Regions from separate parts of the Homo sapiens genome. Here region 1 is linked to region 2. The links are contacts of gene promoters, found by promoter capture Hi-C in blood cells and fetal thymus (Javierre and others, 2016). All regions are on one chromosome and are shown on one strand. The core of a region is centred on a gene start or on the middle of the fragment in contact, and the rest is flanking DNA. Distances in the headings are between cores, read along the strand shown. Region 1 overlaps LOC105373100 (a long non-coding RNA gene). Region 2 holds the start of ARSA (arylsulfatase A).

Evidence for each region. Contacts are between HindIII fragments. The CHiCAGO score rates a contact against its expected background, and 5 or more counts as called.
Region 1: a contact is called between a fragment that was not itself captured here and the fragment with the promoter of ARSA in region 2, in 1 of 17 cell types (endothelial precursors). The highest score is 5.6, in endothelial precursors.

The regions. Positions count from the first base shown.
Region 1 is chr22:50,733,228-50,738,053 of GRCh38, forward strand. It overlaps LOC105373100 (a long non-coding RNA gene), which reads right to left. Exons shown (of 2, transcript NR_134637.1): 1 at 4,163-4,826; 2 at 2,602-3,877. Among named protein-coding and RNA genes, the nearest start is that of ACR, 2.6 kb to the right of the region's middle. The HindIII fragment of the contact is 2,544 bases long and covers 180-2,723 here.
Region 2 is chr22:50,626,902-50,632,256 of GRCh38, forward strand. ARSA (arylsulfatase A) reads right to left here and starts at 1,251. Exons shown (of 8, transcript NM_000487.6): 1 at 655-1,251; 2 at 265-505; 3 at 1-151. The coding sequence starts at 878. LOC124905149 (a long non-coding RNA gene) reads left to right here and starts at 4,593. Exons shown (of 2, transcript XR_007068161.1): 1 at 4,593-5,355. RefSeq lists an enhancer at 1-211 and a silencer at 1,146-1,335. The HindIII fragment of the contact is 2,215 bases long and covers 1-1,680 here.

The DNA of each region.
Region 1 (4,826 bases), core at 202-2,701, 110 kb after region 2:
CCTGCTTGAGGGGATATTTGTGTCTGTCCCTCATACCGGCCACACAAACCTCCTCAGCCTGGACCACATGCACGGGTGACTCCTAGATCCCTATCTTTGACCTCCATGCCTAGGCACCTGGCATCTTCCAGCATCTTCTCCGAGTCTGCTGGAACTCAGCCCATGCCTTCTGCACCGAAAGCTTTTCTCTGTTCACCAACCCACTGAGTAGCACCTCCTAAGCTGGAGGCCACTTGTCCTCCATGACCCCTGCCAGGTTTTAAGCCTAGGGTTTAAGACTTGCTCCCGCCAGCGTCCGGTTGCTTTTAAATTCTGCTGCTCCTGTCTTGGAACCCGCTCGCATCTCTCGCAACTGTCCTACCCCACGGCTGCAGACCAGATTTAGCCCTCACTCCTTCCCTGCTGATTCACTGGTTTTCTGTTTCCATTTCTGCCCTCTGCTGACAAACACCAGCCTGTCTGTAAATGCAGCTGATGGATGGACCCCGTGAGCCAGTCCGGCCCAGCCAGTGCTGCCGTGGCCCTGCCAGCATCCCCTGCTCCCTCCCCATGCACACATGCTGCTCGCCAGTCTCCCCCCACCTCCTGCAATCCCTGAGCCGCTATGACGCTTCAGGGCTCTGTCTCACACATGCCCTCTTCCTTCTGCCTGGATCACCCATCGTTTGCCTGCATCAAGCATACATAGCTTGGAGGCTGATCTCCGGATCCTGTCTTCCAGGACGTTTTCTCTGACCCGCCCTCCCTGGAGTCCCAGTTAGATGTTAGGCTCTGCGTCTGCACGGCCCTGGTGCTATCTCAAATTAGAGCAAGTTGGTGCTTCTCACCTTGGGTTGTCTGCCCAGTTGGATGTGAGGTTTCCTTTTTGCTCCCACCCTGAGCACCAGAGACAAGACATTGTCCTTCAGGAGCGCACAGGCAGTCATGTGAGCAGCCGATAATGTGGCAAAAAAGACACGTCCTGGGTGGCACCTGGTGGGGGTGGCCAGCCAACAGGAGGGACAGAGACCCCTCGCTGAGTGGAAGGAGGTGGTGAGCTATGTCTTGAAGGGCAAACAGTAAGGCAAGTGGGCAAAGGCAATCAAGAGGGAGCCGTGAGAAAGTAGAGGGCACAGGACCCAGCACTGAGGCCAGGGGCTGCAGAGATGTGACGTCCCCGGTGGGGAGGGTTGCTTACAGGAGGGGCAGTGGTTTCAGAGCCTGGACACACTGGGTTGAGGAGGCGCGTGAATATGACAGAATGACAATCGCATACCTTGGCTCTGTGGTTAACCTTAGCCAGGGGTGGGGCCGGTGGCACCGTGGAGAAGTGCCACTAGCCCCAGACTCTGAGTCCCCATGGAGGCCTAGGGCTCCATGTGCAGCCCAGGGAGACCCACCCTCCCGATTCCACACACTCAGGCCCAGAGCGAGTCAGGGGCCCCCTGCTCCCACACTCAGACCCTTGCAGGGCCCCCCTCCTTGACTTCCCGTGCAGCCCTTTCCTTATGATGGCCTCAGTTTCTAATCTGAAAATAAGATGAGGATTAGGAAATGTTGAAAATTTGAAATTGTGTGGCCTCTGCTCTTCCTGTGGGCTGGCACCCCCCAGCCACTCCCAAGACCTGTGGACAACTTTGGGGCAGGGCCAGGACATGGAGGCTGCTTTTGTTTTGTTTTGAGACAAGGTCTCACCCTGTCACCCAGGCTGGAGTGCAGGGGCATGATCGTGGCTCACTGTAGCCTCAACCTCCTGGAATTGAGCGATCCTCCTGCCTCAGCCTCCCAAGTAGCTGGGACTGCAAGCGTGGGCCATCACACCTGACTAATTTTTTTTTTATTTTTTATGAGATGGGGGCCTCATTTTGCTGCCCAGGCTGGTCTAGAACTCCACCCTCCTTAGCCTTTCAAAGTGCTTCGATGACAGGTGTGGGCCACCTTGCCCAGCCTGAGGCTGGTTTTCAAGCTGTCATCAACCATAGCCTCAAAGGGCCTTCGTCCTTCTCCATGGCGCCACCCAGACCCTCACCTGCTTGCTTAAACCACCCCCGAGGCACCTGCTTCCCCTGGGTGAAGACCTGAAACCTACCCCTTTTCGGCCCTCAAGGTTTCACTGCGTCAACCATTCTTACTCCCTCTGGGATCTTCTTGCCTTCCTGGCTGGCTGGACATTGAGGATGGTTGGATAAGGTTTCTGCTCCTCACGGAGGGTGGTGGGGACAGGAATGGAAAAGTAGGGGATTGGGGGCTGGAAGGGATTGGAGATCAGGGTGAGAAAAACTGGGGTGGGAGTTGGATTGCCCAGGTAAATAAGGCATGGGGACAGAAGTGGGCACGGCTGGCGAAGGCAGCGGGTGGTTGGGGTGAGCAGGAGCAGCGAGAATGGCTGGGATGAGCTGGAGGGGTGCCTGGGGGTCAGGGTGGAAGCAGAGAGCAGGGAGGAGTTTGAGGGGAGATGGGGAGCCCCCATCCTGCCCCCTGTGCTGAGCACTCTGCCTCAGCCTGAGCCATGCCCTCGGATGGGACCCCACCCTCTGGCCCCAGACCTGTCACCCATTTCTCCTTCGCTCTTAGAACAGCATGAAGAAGGTCAGACAAAGTCACTCTGAGTTGAGATGTTTGTTGCTTCCATTAGTTTAATGACAAAATTAAATGGGCCGGGCCAGGTACTTTTCCCGCAACCATCACTATAGCCACGGGCAGGCACGATGACTGGCAGCCCCTTCTAGAATCAGAAGTGGGTAAGCTTTGCGGAGTCAAACTGTAATGGTCTTCTAGAATCCAGACACTGACATTGGGTCTTCAGACTTTTTTATTGATACCTCCTAAATATTTGTAAAGAAATAGGTGCTATCCATTAAAAACACCCGAATAATATTTTCTTTAACAGTCAAAACTTTAATCTTCTTCTTTTTTTTTTTTGAGACAGGGTTTCACTCCCATTGCCCAAGCTTGAGTGCAATGGTGCGATCTCGGCTCACTGCAACTTCTGCCTTCTGGGTTCAAATGATTCTCCTGCCTCAGCTTTCTGAGTAGCTGGGATGCAGGTGCCACTGCACCTGGCTAATTTTTGTATTTTTTGTACAGACGGGGTTTTGCCGTGTTGCCCAGGCTGGTCTGGGGCTCCTGAGCTCAAGTGATCTGCCTGCCTCACCCTCTCAAAGTGCTGGGATTACAGGCATGAGCCTCTGCACTTGGGCCCACTTCTTCAATTCTTCTTGCCATTTCTTGAACCATATTTCCAAAGTCTTTTTCTGGTTATTTATGAGACACAACTTGATGCTCAGTTAAAATAAGTGAGGTCCGCTAACACTCAGTAGTGCAGCTGAAACCTATTCACATTCAAGTCACGAAATAGAACTTGTATGCCCTTCAGCTAGAGGAAGTGGGGCTACCTGACATAAAGGTAGAAAAATCCCCTGACACTCGGAGGAGATAAAGTGTCATGACTTAGATAGGGCATATAGGAGATAGGAGGTTTCATGACTCTCAGGTAAGGGAGATGAGACCTCCAGACAACCAGGAAGAGGTGAGAATACCTCCAGACCTCAGGGGGTTGAGATGAGAACTTTGGACACCCAGAATAGAGGAGATCTCATGATACTCTAGCAGAGGAGATGAAAGCTCCATGCCATTTAGACAGGGATATGAGACTATATTCAAGTAGAGGGTAGGACATGCCCTGGCACCCAGATGGGGGCAATGAGATCTCCCAACACTCTGGTATACCGGTGGAGACTTCAGAACATTCATATAGGTAAAATACAACCTCTTGACATTCAGCTGGAAGATGTAAGACCTCTTGATTTTCAGGTAGAGAAAGTGCGACAGGGTGACACTTGGGTGGTGGAGGTGAGAATTCTTAACCTGTAGGTGGAGGCGATGAGGGCCTCTGGCACTGAAGTGGAAAAACAGAGTTGTTATTTCTTTCAAAGAAGGAGGTGATCACTCCCTGATACTGGGTAAGATATACGAGACCTATTGAACATTCATTTGAGGATGTCATAAGTACGACATTCAGTTAGAGAAAATAGATAAATCAAGATCATCTGATAATCTGAAAACTCAACACTCAGGAATAGGAGATGAGATGTCCTGACACTCAGGTTGGAGGCATGGGACCTTCTGACACCCACTTAGATGATGTGCAACCTATTGACCCTCGGGCTGGTTGAGATCTTACATTCAGGTAGAAGAGGTAAGGCTGCCCTCATGCAGGTAAGAGTGTGACCTCCTGACACTTGCAGGCGATGGGAAATGTTTTAACATTCAGGTGTTTGCAATAAGCATTTGTCACACTCTGGTAGGTGAGATGCTAGTTCCTGATGATCAGATGGGAAAAATGATGCTTCATGATATTCAGGTAGCTGTATGAAAACTCTTGACATTCAAGTATAGGAGAAAACACCTTGCTCCACCTCAGTCACAGAAAGCCGATCTGGAGACATTCAGGATAATAGGAGACCTTGTGATATTCAGCAACGGACAGGAAGGTGGGCTTTGCAGTTGTAAATTAGGAAAATTCAAAATGACTCTTGGAAAAGTGTGTTGATAGCATTCACTTGGAAGAGGAAAAGAAAACTTCCCCAACAACAATTAAGGATCAATTAATCTGCTGACCCTGACTCCTCTGATCCACAAACATGTTGCACCGTCTCATCACTGAAGGGCTGAGCCGCTCCTCAGTCTGTGAGTCTGCAGTGGTCACAGCACGCATGAGAGGCAGACTCTGAACCTGCACAAAGCCAGAGCCTTGGGTGATGTGGGGACCTCGCAAGAGTTACTGGGAATGGAGATCCTGGCCTTGGGACAGAGGGAGTGGGGCTGCACAGGAGTCCCCCATCATC
Region 2 (5,355 bases), core at 1-2,500:
AAGCCATGTAGCGGGCCTCTAGTCCGGGCAGCCAGGGGGGCTGCGCCTCCACGGACAGGTTGGCCAACAGTGGGATGGGGACCAGGCCCTGGTCACAGCCACCGTCGCAAGGAGTGGCCGGCGGGAAGCAGGTCAGGTTCTGGCAGGGGCCCTGAGGCGGGCAGCTGCCGTGAGGGCTGGGCTGGCAGGTGGGGCTGCGGGAGCATCAAGGGCTGGGGGACTTTGGGAGGTGGGAGGGTGGCTGAGGGCCCGGGTGGTTCCTACCTGGTCGTGGGAGTACGGGATGCCTAGAAATCGATGGAAGCCCTGATGGGGGGGCAGGAAGGCCCCCTCAGGCCCCACCCCAAGGTGCCACTTGCCGGCCATTCCTGTGAGGTAGCCTCGGGCAGCCAGGACTTCGGCCACGGTCACCTCCTCCAGGGGCAGGCCCCCCCGGGAGCTGGGCACCAGGACGCCAGGGTACATGCCCATCCGAACCGGGAGCCGGCCGGTCAGGAGGGCGGCCCTGCGGGACAAGTCACAGAGTCCCTGAGACAGACAGAAATGTGGCCTTCCCTAGAGAGAGAGACAGACGTTTTTCCCGCCCCCCTGCAATCCATTGGGAGGAAAGGGATGGAGGGTCGGGGCGGGGAAGAGGCGCGGCCCCCTCTTTACCTAGAGGGTGTGCACAGAGACACAGGCACGTAGAAGTCTGTGAACCGCAGCCCTCCCGCCGCCAGCTGGTCCAGGTTGGGAGTGGTAGAGCTGGGGTGCCCATAGCAGCCCAGGTCCCCATAGCCGAGGTCGTCGGCAAAGATCAGCACGATGTTGGGCGGACGGGCAACGGCCAGGCCAGCAGCCAGGGCCAGGAGGAGGGACCGCGGTGCCCCCATGGACATGGGACCGAGGGGTCTGTCCCAAGAGAGGGAGGGCTACTTGGCTCCAGCAGGCTCTTTCCGATACCGCAGACCCAGGCGCCGCCCTTCCCTGAGACCCCGGACCCAAATACTCCCCGACCCTGACGGCCGCCTCCTGAAGCTCCAGAGGGCCGGGGCCCGACAGTACCGGGAGACCGCGGGCTGGGACGGAACTCCTCCAGGACCAGGGCACCTTCAGATTCTCGAGCGGAGATCTGATCCTCCTCGCCTAGCGGTCCGGGCTCAGGGTCGGGGGCGTAAGTCACTTGGCGCTGACCAGCGGAGTCGGGCCGGGGGGAAGGCGCTAGAGGGAGCCCAGGAGGAGCCGGTACCGGGCTGCGGGCGCTTCCGCCTCGGCCCCGCCCCGTGACCTGTGACCCTTGCGGGGCGGGGCCGGGGGCGGGGCCGGGGGCGGGGCCGGGGGCGGGCCGGGGCGAGGGGCGTTGCTGCGCGTGCTCGCTCCGAGGCCGCCGTGTGCGCCTGAGGCTGTTGGCTGCGGTCTTGAAACGGGCTCTGGGAGCTTCCTCTGCGCGGTCGGCCCTGGCTGAGGCGTCCCGGGCTGCGCGCGGGGCTCGGCGCTGCGCAGTGTCCGGTGTCCTCTCGGTCCGGAGCTTCTCCAGAGGAGGAGCGGCTCGTGCGCCCCCAGACCTCCGGTACTGGGAGACTCGGGCCCTCCTGTAAGAGACCTGAGCGCGGAGCGTTATGGGCACCCGGTGAATGAGCAAATGGCAGGGAAAACCGTGCAGCCCCATGGACTGCGGGCTCTTCCTTCACGACTAGCAAAAGCTTTGACACCCTTTCTCCTGCGTACGCGTGTCTGTGTGCGTGTAAGCTGTGGCTGGGTGCGGGGGGCTGTGTACGTGTCTGTGTGTGGTGTGTGTGGAGTGTTTGAGGCAGGTGTGTGGTGTTTCAGGTGTGTGTGCATGTGTGGTGTTTGAGGTGTGTGTGTGTGTTTTTGTAGTGTTTGAGGGATATGTGTGTGTGGTGTTTGAGGTGGGTGTGTGGTGTTTGAGGGGTGTGTGTGTGTGGTTGAGGGGTGTGTTTGGTGTTTGAGGGGTGTGTGTGGTTGAGGTGTATGGTGGTTGAGGTGTGTGTAGTGTTTGAGGCACGTATGTGTGTGGTGTTGGGTGTGTGTGGTGTTAGAGGTGTGGCGTATGTGTGTTTGCGGTGGTTGAGGTGTGTGTGTGTGTCTGGTGTTTAGGGTGTGTCTGTTGTGTGCGTGTGGTGGTGGAGGCGTGGTGTGGTGTGGAATGTGTGTCTGGGGTCCAGTCTGGCCTGTTGCAGGGTTACGCTGCTGGGGAAAAACTCATCTGAGGACAACGTGATTGGGTCCTCGCTCCCTCGTTGGGCAGCCTTGGACTTAACCTTTTTGATCTTGAAGGAAAACACAATATGTCACCTCCAAATATATTTCCTTGACACGGTTCAAGACAGTTACTCAGAAGGACTGGAAATAGAAGAATAGCTGAAAAGCTGTCTTTTGTGGGGGAGATTTGCATCTGTGGAGAGAATCTACACTGATGCGGCCAGGCCTCCTCTGAGGCCCTCCTTGCCTGATCTGGGAAGAGTAACAGTCTGACGCCTTTAAAGGCCTGAAGGGAACATTCACCATCTGTTCTCTCTCAGGGCTGCTACCTGTGAGGTTTCATCTGTAGAACAAGGCCACCTTTGCTAGCCAGGCCTCCTCTGCTCTCCCTCCTGTAACCGGTCTTGCCACTGGTCACCTGATTTTCCACCATAAACTGTGGCCATACTTTGAGCCCATGTTCTTTCTGTAACCTCAAGATGGTATATAAGCTTCCGAACCCCATTGGGAGGTTGGGGTCATCACTCTGGTTCTCCCTGTGTGCATGAATAAATCTGTATGCCTTTTTTCTTACTAACCTGGCTTTTGTCAGTTGATTTTCTGTGAACTCAGAATGCAGAAAAGTTTTTCTCTAGGCTCCTACAGTTTTGGTGCAGTCGGTAGGATAACTAAAGTCACTCTCCTGGGAGCCTCCGTCAGGGGAACCCAGGAGCCGACAAGCTGGCAGAAAGAAGGGTAAGAAGGTCTTAGCAGCCAGGCTCCCGGCCTCTCTGGAATCTTGTCAAGCCGACGGTAAAAATGTCTGTTTACCTTGTTTTCCTCTTCAAAGTTTTAATGAGAGAAATGTATTTATGTGATTAGTTTTGTATTCATATTGTTTGATTGCTTTTTTTCCCCAGAAATAGTCGTCTTTCATTCTTGTCTTTCTGTGTTTTTCTGTCATAAAGAGGGTAGAACACAGGCCTAAAACCCCTGTAAACCCCGTCTTGGGGCCGTCCTGCAGGCTAGTCAGTTTTGCAGCTCTGATCGGATGCGTCTAGTTAGACAGACTTTGCTGTGGGTCCCTGAACTGAAAACTGGATGAGATTCTCCTCTCTTTTGATGTCCTTGAAAGCTTGAGTTGTGAGCGAGTGGGAATGATGCAGGCCAGGCAGACCCCAGAGTGGAGCTTAGCCAGTGAGGGTTTTGGCTTTGCCCAGGAAAGAATTCAAAGACAAGCCAGAGGTAGAAGAAAACAGCTTTATTGAACAGGTGGCGTTAGAGCTCTGTGACTGCTCCTGCAGAGCAGGGCCACCCCGTAGGCTGAGAGTAGCAGCTCAGGGCAGTTTTGCAGTCACATTTATACGCACTTTTGATTGCATGTAGATTAAAGGATGGTTTATGCAGAAGTTTCTAGGGAAGGAGTAGTCATCATTGGGTCATTGCCATGGAAAGGGGTGGCAACTCCTGGGTGTTGCCATGGCAATGGTAAACTGACATGGCACAGTGGCGGGCATATCTGACTGAAAGCTGCTATTGCCCCAACCCTGTTTTAGCCAATCCTCAACTGGGTCAACTAAGTCCCACCTCCTACCTCAGGAGCACTCTCTTGGCCTCTGCCAATCCGAGGTAGTGACTCGCAGGTCACATTTTGTGGTCAGTCTGAAAATGGTTGGGAACCCAAGACATTTAATATTTTAAGCAGCACCGTTTTTGTTCTGAATGTGTCAAGCTTTTAGTTTGTCTTAAGAAGTCCCTGCCAGGCGAGCTGTCAGAGCCCCGGCACTGGGAGTGGTGGTCAACTTGCGGGTTGGTAAAAAGAGTTTACCGACAATAGGTTTGAAAAAGGAAAGTTTGGCCGGGCATAGTGGCTCATGCTTGTACTCTCAGCACTTTGGAAGTCCAAGGTGGGTGGATCACCTGAGGTCAGGAGTTTGAGACCAGCCTGGCCAACATGGAGAAACCCTGTCTCTACTGAAAGTATAAAACTTAGCCAGGTGTGGTGGTGCGTGGCTGTAATCCCAGCTACTTGGAAGGCTGAGGCAGGAGAATTGCTTGAACCTGGGAGGCGGAGGTTGCAGTGAGCTGAGACAGAGCAAGACTGTCTCAAAAAAAAAAAGAAAAAAGAAAGTTTGCCGGGCACGGTGGCTCACGCCTGTAATCCCAGCACTTTGGGATGCTGAGGCAGGTGGATCACCTGAGGGCAGGAGTTCAAGACCAGCCTGGCCAACATGATGAAACCCCATCTCTACTAAAAATACAAAAAATTAGCTGGGCATGGTGTCGGGAGCCTGTATTCCCAGCTACTTGGGAGGCTGAGGCAGGAGAATCGCTTGAACCTGGGAGATGGAGGTTGTGGTGAGCTGAGATCATACCATTGCACTCCAGCCTGGGCAACAAGAGTGAAACTCCATCTCAAAAAAAAAAAAAAGAAAAAAAAAGAAAAGAAAGAAAGTTTATTAGAATGCTGCAGAAGAGTGCAATGAGGTGCCTCAGCAAGAGGACTGAGTACGCCGGGTGGATTTCTCCTTAAGGGCATTTATAGGCCTTAAAGTGGAGGCTTAACAGTAATTTGGACCATATTAGCCACGTAAGTCATGATAAATGATTACATTTATAGTAATTTTGGTGCCTTAATGTCAGCGACGGTTGTACAGTGAGTTTCGTCATGGTATTCTGGAGACACATAGAAATTATAGTTACTTACACGTTTTTTGGGGGAAGAAATCTGGAACCAGATGCCTGCTTTAGATAATAGGGAGGTTTAGTTACTTTTGATTTTCCCCAGATAAGGAGTTTTGCCTCGGAGGGCCTGTTTGATGTTTGATGGTCGCCAGGTGGTTTTTGCTCTCCTCAGGCCCATCCATAAGGGGCTTTTGTCATCCCAATGTTTGTTGCCTGGTCAGTCCTCAGAAAGCCCAATCCCAACAGGCCTACCCTGTGTTACAGGTTAATGGGTCTGTGACTGGCAGCCCCTGACAGATTGTGTGTTACTGGAGGCACTGTATGTACAAACACGTTCCTTAACTGTCTCTGGGAACAAGAGTCTTTTGCTGTCTTTGCCTATTCCTGGGAGTGAATTTTGGGGGCATCATTGGAACCTCCTCTTCTATGCCCTCTCTAAACCTGGAAAATAATCTTTTGGGCTTTCCATGAAGGGGCTTCTTGGATTGA